Regions from separate parts of the Homo sapiens genome. Here region 1 is linked to region 2. Evidence: promoter capture Hi-C in human tissues and cell types (Jung and others, 2019). All regions are on one chromosome and are shown on one strand. The core of a region is centred on a gene start or on the middle of the fragment in contact, and the rest is flanking DNA. Distances in the headings are between cores, read along the strand shown. Region 1 overlaps XRRA1 (X-ray radiation resistance associated 1). Region 2 holds the start of TPBGL (trophoblast glycoprotein like).

What was found. Contacts are between HindIII fragments. The study calls those that stand out against the background at their distance.
Region 1: a fragment that was not itself captured here is called in contact with the fragment with the promoter of TPBGL in region 2 in 3 of the 25 tissues and cell types used here (lymphoblastoid cells, mesenchymal stem cells and small bowel).

The regions. Positions count from the first base shown.
Region 1 is chr11:74,914,853-74,919,920 of GRCh38, forward strand. All of the region lies in intron 8 of XRRA1 (X-ray radiation resistance associated 1), which reads right to left. It also overlaps the pseudogene RPL31P46. Among named protein-coding and RNA genes, the nearest start is that of XRRA1, 32 kb to the right of the region's middle. The HindIII fragment of the contact is 9,065 bases long and covers 1-5,068 here.
Region 2 is chr11:75,238,076-75,243,167 of GRCh38, forward strand. It overlaps TPBGL (trophoblast glycoprotein like), which reads left to right and starts at 2,699. Exons shown (of 1, transcript NM_001195528.2): 1 at 2,699-5,092. The coding sequence starts at 2,975. The coding sequence ends at 4,123. LOC124902717 (a long non-coding RNA gene) reads right to left here and starts at 1,795. Exons shown (of 2, transcript XR_007062783.1): 1 at 1,571-1,795; 2 at 1-22. RefSeq lists silencers at 3,605-3,854, 3,985-4,064. The HindIII fragment of the contact is 18,187 bases long and covers 1-5,092 here.

The DNA.
Region 1 (5,068 bases), core at 126-2,625, 320 kb before region 2:
TGAAAGCAATATTTGAAATCAGGCTCCAGCAAGACTGGAAAAGTTGCAGGAATATATGGCTTAGATTCCTATGGCGCATACTCCTGCTGTACTGCTACCTCTTCATCAACCCTTAACTAAGGTCCTGTGGCCATCTAATATAGGAAGAAAAACCTCTAGCTTGGTTTACAAATGACTTAGCATGATATGCTGATACCTTCTCAAAGTCAACTATTACAATATTATAGCCCCACACAGGAGTGACCAAAAACACAGGGGAAGAGAAATCTTCTAAGCAGGCAGAACTTAGAGCAATGTATCTGATTGGCCATTTGCTTGGTCAGAGAGATAGCCAGAAATACAGATCTATACTGATTCACGGGCAGTGGCTGATGGTTTAGCTGAATAGTCAAAGCTTGGAAAAAATATGGGAAAGTTGCTTAAAGTATAGAGAAAAATTATGTGACTTAACCTCTCAGAATGGATAGAGTGTGAAGACCGTGTCTCATATGACTGTTTCCCCAAGACAATCCCCTGTGGCGGAGACTCTCAATGGTCAGGAAGATAAGGTAACCCAATCCATGAATGTCAGTTGCCCTCTTTCCCTTGGTGGCAGGGATGAAGGCTACACACTTCCTTTCACCATAGCAAATCTGGTTATGACCCTTGCTGAGTACTCAACCTGCCAATGGCAGAGGCCACTGCTGAACCCCTAATATGGCACCGAATTTCTAGAGGGATTATACAGCTGTCTAGTATCAAGTTGACTTTAAAAAGCAGCAGCAAGTTTCCTTTACTAGATTATAAATGTATTTTTGGATATAGATTTGCCTTCCCTGCCCACAATGTTCTACAAGTGGAATAGAAACTGTTGATACAATAATACTAGCTTTTGTAATTGCCCATGTATTTACCTTTAATGAGAGCTTTATTCCTTCTTACAGCTTTGAGTTACTGTCTAGCATCCTTTCATTTCAACCTGCAAAACTCCCTCCAGTATTTACGCAGGGCGGGACTGGTGGTAATGAATTTTTTTTACCTTTTGTTTATCTGGGAATGTCTTAATTTCTTCCATACTTTGGAAGAACACTTCTGCTGGATGTAGGATTCCTGATTGACAGGTTTTTTTTTCTTTTAGCACTTTAAATATTTAATATATCAGCCCACTGCCTTCTGGCCTTAAAAGTTTCTGACAAGAAGTCTGCTGATAATCTTATTGAAGATTCCTTGTATGTGATGAGTTGCTTCTCTCTCACTGCTTTCAAGATCCTCTGTCTTTTAACAGTCTGATTATAATATGACTCAGTGGAGGTCTCTTTGAGTTCATCCTATCTTGGAGTTCACTGAGCCTCATGTATGTTTATATTCATGTCATTCATCAAACTTGGGAAGTTTTAGGCTATTATTTCTTCAAATAATCTCTCCGTGCTTTCTCTCTTCTCCTTCTGGGACTTTCATAATACATAGGTTGGTTTGCTTGATGGTATCCCAATCCCACAGGTCCCTTAGGCTTTGTTCAAGTCAATCTTTTTTTTTCCTCTTGTTTCTCTGACTTGATACATTTAATTGTTCTGTCTTCAAGTTTGCTGATTCTCTCTTCTGACTGCTCGAATCTGCCTTTGAAACTCTCCAGTGAATTTTTCATTTCTTATTCTAATTTTCAGGTTCAAAATTTCTTTTTAGGTTGTCTATCTCTTTGTTGATATTTCCATTTTGTTAATATATCATTTTCTTGACTTTATTCATATCTTTCATTAGTTCTTTGAAAACCTTTAAGACAGCTGTTTTAAAGTCTTTATCTAGTAAGTACTCACTTTCTCAGGGATAGTTTCTGTTGCTTAATTTTTTCCTTTGGATGGGCCATATTTTTCTGTTTCTTTGTATGCCTTGTGATTTTTTTGTTGAAAGCTGAATATTTGAATCTATTAATATGGTAACTCTAGAAATCAGATTCTTCCCTTTACCAGGGTTTGCTGGGTTTTTTTGTTTCGTGTTTGATTATTGCAGGCTGTCTCTGTGTCAAGGATCAGGCTGATGTGTAAATGTAAGTTCTTCTCAGGTCTTTTCTAAGCCTGTGCATTTCTCTGGATATATGTGGTGACATTCTAATTTCCTCTGTATATGCAGCTGATTTTGAATGTCCTAGACTTTAATGCCTGGCTCCCAAAAGATGGGGAAAGGAATGAGGATTAAGAAAAGAAATCCTTTAAATTCCCTGGAAGTCTCTTCAGCTGGAGCAGAAAGGGCTTATGACAGTTGTGGATGGGTGTGTGTGCAACAATGGTTGTGTGCCTCTGTGTGCACCTCAATGATGAGAAGTAGCAATCAGTGATCACAGCACAAATCTCTAAAATTTGGAGGACAGAGATCTTTTTGTCCACCCTGGCTCCTGCAAGCTGCATGTGAATTACCCAATGAATATATTTCTTATTCTAATTTTCAGGTTTAAAATTTGAACCATGAGATTGGGAGTTAGGGGATGGGTAGCTGCTACCGGGTTAAAGCTGTAATTGACTGAAATTAGTTGCAGTTTGTCATCTAAATCTTCCCCTGGAAGACGTAAACTTTTAATAGAGTGTGAAGATTATTTGTGTCCACAGTTTCAAAATTGTTACATCAGACTGATTCTGGCAATGAAATTGTTGTCTAGATGAGGAGACAGATTCTTGGTGCTTCCTACTCCATCATCTTCCCAGAATCCTCTAGTGAAATAGTCTTTGATGATTTATCTACTATACCAATTAGATATAGTTAGGGAAGTTGGGACCCTAACTTAACAGCATAGGATATCACATAAACCAAAACTGATACTGTTTTTCTCATAACCACAACCTAAGGTCCTAGGAATTAATGGAAATGAAAGTAGCTCCTCTTACAATTATATCTAATAGTCCACTTGCAGAATTTTTGCTTCTCATTCTACAACTTTTGGCACTTCTGATTTACAGGTCTTAGTTCCTAAGGAGGTACTTTTACCAAGAGACACAATCATGGTTCCACTGAACTGGAAGTCGAGATTGCTACCAGCCACTTGCATTTCTCATTTCACTGAACCAACAGTCAGACAAAGAGGGGTTCATTCTACTGGCTAGGTGACTGATATTGTTTATAAAAATAAATATAATTGCTGTTATACCTTGAGGTTAAAAAAAAAAAAGTATCTCTGGGACTAGAGTATTATCTGGTGCTCCTCTAAGAAGTTCCATGTCTTTTAGTCTTTTAATGAAGACTACAGCAACCCAGTAAAAGCAGGACCTTAAAGGACTCAGACCCTTCAGAAGTGAAGGTTCAGAAGACCACATCAGTTAAAGAACCCCAACCAGCCAAGGTGCTGGAAGATGACAGAGGAACATTAAATAGGTGATGGAAAAAAGGATTTACAAATATCCACTATGGCCTCCTGACCAGTTAAGAAAAGATCACTGTAGCAACTATGCATATTTTCGTGTGCATTTTCTTCCTTCCTTAGTGTGTGTGTGTGTGTGTGTGTGTGTGCACTCGCATGCACACTTAAACTGCTAGTGGTGACTGACTTTACAACTTAGTTTTTAGGATATAAAATATCCATAAATTTCTTTAGAAGAGAAAATAATATCATCCAGCAATGGCTACAGTAACTGATGGAACTGTGTCTCATCCTTCTTGAGGGGATGGTGAAAGTGTCTTCAGTATAAGAGGAAGAGTTCCTTCATGTTAGGTAAAAGCATGTTGCAGTTGCTATTGTTGTATGGAAATTAAATATGGAGGGAAGCAGGAGGGTAGCTATTGGGGTTCCAAGGGTTGAATGGTGCCAGTTATCTGCCTATTTGCTCTCAGCCTTCACCCCTTCCTTCTGTGTTCTTCTATGTATTGTAGGGGGCTGGAGCCATCTCCTTAACTACACTTCCCAGACTGCCTTTCCAACTAGTTGGATACTGCCAATAGAAGGGATTCATGAGAGACTGGAAGGCCAGAGCCAGGGAGAAGCAACTCTCTTGTCTGGCTTCTGATAGCATTTCTGTCAGCAGCAGCAGTGATAGTGCAACAGCAATGGCAGTACTAACCATGGTAACTGCGTTGGCAGAGATTCCAGCCTTGGTTGAGGCATCACATCTTCAGCAGGTCTACAATTACAGTGACACCCTCCCTGAAAGCCCAGCAGTGGATATAGACTTGTTGACTTCAGTTTAGCAGTGATGCAGCTTCTGATCTCTGGTTATCAACGCTTCTTACTTTTTGTTCTTCCCATACCCCTCTTCTCCACTTAGCTCTTCCATCCCTTCTAACAGCCATGTAACCAATTCCCTCTCTATCACTGGTGATATTTTAGGTGGAATAATGGTTCTCTGGGTATGATTTTTAAGAGTGCTTACCTTTTAGAGCTACATACTGGAATATTTATAGATGAAATAATATGAAACATTTATGGCTGTATATATCTGAGATTTTTCTTCAGAATATTCCAGGAGGGGGCGTGATGGGGGCATAGATGAAACAAGATTGGCCATGACTTGATAATTGTCAGGTGATAATTGTTGGTGATAGGTACCTGGAGTCAATTTTATGATAGACTCTAATTTTATATGTGTTTAAAAACTTTCCATAACAAAATACCAATTACCTCTCCCTGCCAAGAATTAATAAATGAATAAACCAATCAGTAAACCAATTAATACCATCTATTTGTAATACCTTGAGTGGGTTTTGTATTTCTGTCTACAGCCTGACTGGCTCATGGAGAAAGCCTACCTAAGAATGAAGCCGGGACCCGGCAGAATGGCTCCTGTGAAGAAGGGTGGCAAGAAGAAAAAGGGCCGTTCTGCCATCAATGAGGTGGTGACCCGAGAATACACCATCAACATTCACAAGTGCATCCATGGAGTGGGCTTCAAGAAGCATGCCCCTTGAGCACTCAAAGAGATTCGGAAATTTGTCAGGAAGGAGATGGGAACTCTAGATGTGCACAACTGATACCAGGCTCAACAAGGCTGTCTGGGCCAAAGGAATAAGGAATGTCCCATGCCGAATCCATGTGCAGTTGTCCAGAGAATATAATGAGGATGAAGATTCACCAAATAAGCTCTGTACTTCGGTTACCTATGTACCTGTT
Region 2 (5,092 bases), core at 1,449-3,948:
GGAGAATTTAGACGGGAAGCACCTTTACAAAGTGGGAAGAGAGGAGAGGAGGCTGAGTAGAGGCCATACAGAGAGACAAGCAGAGACTCATTAACATCCACCACAAATCTGCTGTGTTGGAGAAGGAAAGAACATGGAACAGGGAAAAATGACATGGGAGCTAATTAGTCCCAGAGAGGGGCAATGCCTTACCCAGGGTCTGGCAGGACGGGTGCTAGGCCCCCAGACCCAGGTGAAATGTTTTTTCTTGTTTTGAGGCACTTTCAACTCACTTTATCATAACAGCCCTGAGAGGAATAGGAAGAACAGGAATTTAAAGCCTATCTACCTTATAGAAGAGGAAGGTGACAGCCCAAGATTGAGAAAGGCCTGAGGTCACACCAGATCAACCATGGCATCCATTCCCAGCCTCAGCTTCTTGGGGTCAGGATAAGCATTCCTTGTGGTGCAGGACCCTCTCAGATGCAGCCCACCATCTTGGACAGAGTCCTGGGCAAGGACCCTGGGGTCAGGTTTCTAGGCTAAACTCTGAAAACTTGACAGGGGCCTTGGGGCCCCTCTGGCCTATTTCCCCATTTGTGCAAAACAGACGACATTTGCCTTATTCTCTGGCACCTGATGATTCTAAATTCTCTCCAGGCCTCATTTCCCCAAATGAGGTGTTGAGCACCCCCCCAATCAAGGCTGCCTGTGGTCCTGCAGCTCCTTTCCTGGGGGGCAGCAGGGGAGGGGGGCATCAGCCAATCTGAGGCCAGCCACCACCGGGGCCTGGGGAAGGAGTTCCAGCCTTGGTAGTGGTCTGATTCCTCAGGGCCTGGAAGCAGACAAGGAAACAGAGACTTCTGTTCATTCAGTCTGTCATTTGCACCACACACTCTCCTGAGATAGTCTCTATACTGGAAACAGAAAAGTGAAAACGACCTAGTGCCTCCTACCAGGGGAGATGTCAGAGCTGGGGCATGTTGCTGTGTGGGCCGGGGTTTAGGGGAGGGCTATAGCTGGGGGCCCAGCCCCAGTGGCATCTACTTGAGCACGTGTGCCCATGTGAGAAAAGACATCACCAGCCTGTTACCTCCACAGACCAAGGGCATGGTGCAGGGCAGGAGGAGTAGGGTCTGACTGTGCTAGCCAATCGCTGGGTCCCTATGCTTGGCATGGCTTAAGCATGGGCCTGTAAGCTTGCCCTCTGAGAATGTATCCACGAACCTGCATGGGCTCAGAAGTGTGCATATTCAAATATGTATGTCTTTATGAATTTATGGACACATGCCAGGACGCACTCAAACCTACGATCCTATGTCCACATATGAATGAGTCTGCATGGACTTGCATGAGACACATCTGAGCTCTCATACCTGGGAGAGTTAAGACAGGGGGTAGGGAAGAGAGAGGGGCTTGGAGGAGGGGAGAGCTGGGAGACCCCCATCATCACCAGCTCTGTTCCTTAATGTTGGTCCTTGCCCAAGACCCAGGCCACTGCAGGGTCTGCCTCTTCTCCTTAAGTGGTATTGATCCTTTGGTCGATCTGTTAAATATAACCTCAGGGAAGGAGTCAACATAACAACCGTACCCAATTCAGGAGAAAGAGACTGATTCTTGGGAGGAGGTGGGGAGCCTCTATTCCAACCAGCTCTGCTGATACCCGAATGGCCTGCGGATCAAGTGTCAGCCTCTCCAGCCTGAATAATTCATGCTAAGGCCAGGAATCCTCCCTTCTCAGGAGCCTGTCTCTTTAAATCAGGTTTAGAGCTTCCCAGTTCTGGGGGAAAAAAAATCCAGAACAAAACAAATCTGTAAACAGCTCAGCCCCCCCACCCTCAGCCCTGGCCCCTTCTGAGACCCCCAACTCCATGCTGCAAAATCTGCTCCTGCTCTCCCAACCTCTGGTGCCCCAAACCCCACTCACAGGCGGAGAAGCCTGGAGGGACTAGTTGACAGTGTCCAACGGAACCCCAGGAGTCTTAAGAGGTTTGGGGGCAGGGAGTGAAAGCAAAGAGCAGAATCACTACACCCCCGGGTCTCTGTGCCTAGGACAGTGCTTGGCAGAGAAGCCCAGCCCGGTGGAGGAAACCACACGGGGGAACTCCTGGCAGAGGCAGAGCAGCCAGAGTTGGTGGGTGGGAGGGGAGCGGGTGCCACAGACTTCTCCTGAGAATGGGATGGGATGGGATGGAGAAAAAGCTGGTCCCATAGGACCTGCAGGGGTGGTGACACAGCCAGGTCTAATGGAACTAGGGTCGCAGAGGAGGAAGCAGAGACTGGGGATTTTCCAGTCTCTCTGCCTTAGGAAGAGGCCGGAAAATGAGTAACTTTCTCAGCCCACCCCTCATCCCTTCCTCCGGTAGTAGGAGCAGCTCTAAAGTCCTCCCCAACCCCCGAATTCTCCCTGGTGGTGACCCACCTGCCTGCTCTCCGCAGTCGGGCCCCGCCCCACACGTGCTGGAGAAGGAGGAGGAAGGACCCAGCTTAAATGTTGGGGGTGGAGGAGGAGGAAAACCAAGTCGGAGCCTCCAGGAGCCAAACTTCTCGGCAGCCCGGAGGGGCGGGGGCGGAGAGGATGAAGAGAAAGCGCAGCAGCCGACAGCCCTGATTCTCGGGAGCCTCCCACCCCGCCTCCCACGGCGAGGAGGGCGCGGAGACTCCGCTGGGGGCGGAGGACGAGACCGGGAGGCGGGGAGGGGGGAGGCAAACCCTGCCCACTCGGCTCGGAGCCCGGAGCGGCCGCGGAAGCCGGAGGCCGGCGCGCAGGGCGAGGGCACCGGGGGCGGGGGGCTCCGCTCCCCGTCTGACCCCTCTTGCCCCCGGCCAGTCAGCCAGTAAGTGCGGCTCCTCAGACTTTCGAGACAGCGAACGGACCGACCGGGACTGCCAGCCGCTCCGGGTCAAGGACTCGCCCCACCCGTGCCCCCCACCAGGCGCTCCCAACTCACTGGTGAGCGCGGCGGCCCGGGCGCTGGATGCGGGGGCGGCCGCGATGGCCCCGCGCGCGGGACAGCCGGGGCTCCAGGGGCTGCTGCTCGTGGCGGCGGCGCTGAGCCAGCCCGCGGCACCCTGCCCCTTCCAGTGCTACTGCTTCGGCGGCCCCAAGCTGCTGCTGCGCTGCGCGTCGGGAGCCGAGCTCCGCCAGCCTCCGCGGGACGTGCCGCCCGACGCGCGCAACCTCACCATCGTAGGCGCCAACCTGACGGTGCTGCGCGCGGCCGCCTTCGCCGGCGGGGACGGGGACGGCGACCAGGCGGCGGGCGTGCGCCTGCCGCTCCTGAGCGCGCTGCGCCTCACGCACAACCACATCGAGGTGGTGGAGGACGGCGCCTTCGACGGGCTGCCCAGCCTGGCGGCGCTCGACCTCAGCCACAACCCGCTGCGCGCCCTGGGCGGCGGCGCCTTCCGCGGGCTGCCCGCGCTGCGCTCGCTGCAGCTCAACCACGCGCTGGTGCGCGGCGGCCCCGCGCTGCTGGCCGCGCTGGACGCTGCGCTGGCACCGCTGGCCGAGCTTCGCCTGCTGGGCCTAGCGGGCAACGCGCTGAGCCGTCTGCCGCCAGCCGCCCTGCGCCTGGCGCGCCTGGAGCAGCTGGACGTGCGCCTCAACGCGCTGGCCGGCCTGGACCCCGACGAGCTGCGCGCGCTGGAGCGCGATGGCGGCCTCCCCGGGCCGCGCCTGCTGCTCGCCGACAACCCCCTGCGCTGCGGCTGTGCCGCACGCCCCCTGCTGGCCTGGCTGCGCAACGCCACGGAGCGCGTGCCCGACTCGCGGCGCCTGCGCTGCGCCGCCCCGCGGGCGCTGCTAGACCGGCCGCTACTGGACCTGGACGGGGCGCGGCTTCGCTGCGCGGACAGCGGCGCCGACGCTCGCGGAGAGGAGGCGGAGGCCGCCGGCCCGGAGCTGGAAGCCTCCTACGTGTTCTTCGGGCTGGTGCTGGCACTCATCGGCCTCATCTTCCTCATGGTGCTCTACCTAAACCGCCGCGGCATCCAGCGCTGGATGCGCAACCTGCGCGAGGCGTGCCGGGACCAGATGGAGGGCTACCACTACCGCTACGAGCAGGACGCCGACCCGCGCCGCGCGCCCGCGCCCGCCGCGCCCGCGGGCTCCCGCGCCACCTCCCCGGGCTCGGGGCTCTGAGCGGCGCCCCCGGGCTCGGGGCTTCCCTTGCCTGGCCCGAAGCCGTGGAGATGAGACACCCGCGAGCCCCGAGCTCTGAGACCTTCCCCTGACTCGGAGGCGCTAAGCCGTACCCTCTCGTTCCCGCCTCCGAGAGCTCCCACCGTCAAAGACCCAGAGATAGCCGGTCCGAATCCAGAAACCCCGCCTGCCCACCCTAGTTTCCGAAACCTCCCTCCTGAACCACTGAAAGTCCGTTCCCCGTCTCGGAGCTCACACAGAGAATCTGTCCTTCAAGGCCAAAGCTCTGAGACTTGCCCCCAGCACCCTGTGCTTGGAGCTCCGACACCCGAGACTGCACTGACCTCCCTCGCCAGCTCGGAGCCCTCAGTCCCCTCCGGGGCTTGAGGGCCCTTCCATCCCATTCTGGACTCGAAGCACAGCACCCCCATCAGAATGGTTTTGTGGATTTTGAGCCCTTTGTCCCATCCCAGAGCTCAGAGCCCTCCATCCTGCATGGAGGCCCAACCCTGGGGCTCTGAGGATTGGGCACCCTCCCCTCATCTAAGAATATATTTCATACCCCTGCCCCCCCTTCACCCACCCCCGCCTCTGGCTCAGGCCCTTCCCTTCCTCGGCTCAGGCATGGGGCTCAGCTCCTAGTCTGTCCCTCCCATCCCAGGGACAAGCACAGCCCATCTAGCCTTAGTGTGGAGCCAACTCTCAGCCTTTCCCACCAGGGCGCTGACCTCCCGATACTCAGTGCTGGTCCCCAGTCTCAGACTCTCAGCTCTTCACCCCGATCTGACTTTCGTCCTCCTGCCCAAGCCTTTGGCTCTTGACCCCCCCCCCATACCCAATGCTGGCACTCAGCACCCACCCCTGCCATTCACTAGTCAAGGTCCAGTGAGGAATCCGTCCCTGGGATGTCCTCATCCCCTTTTCGTCCCAGGACGAGCTCTTCAGTCCTGCCGGATAGGTGCAGGTGCC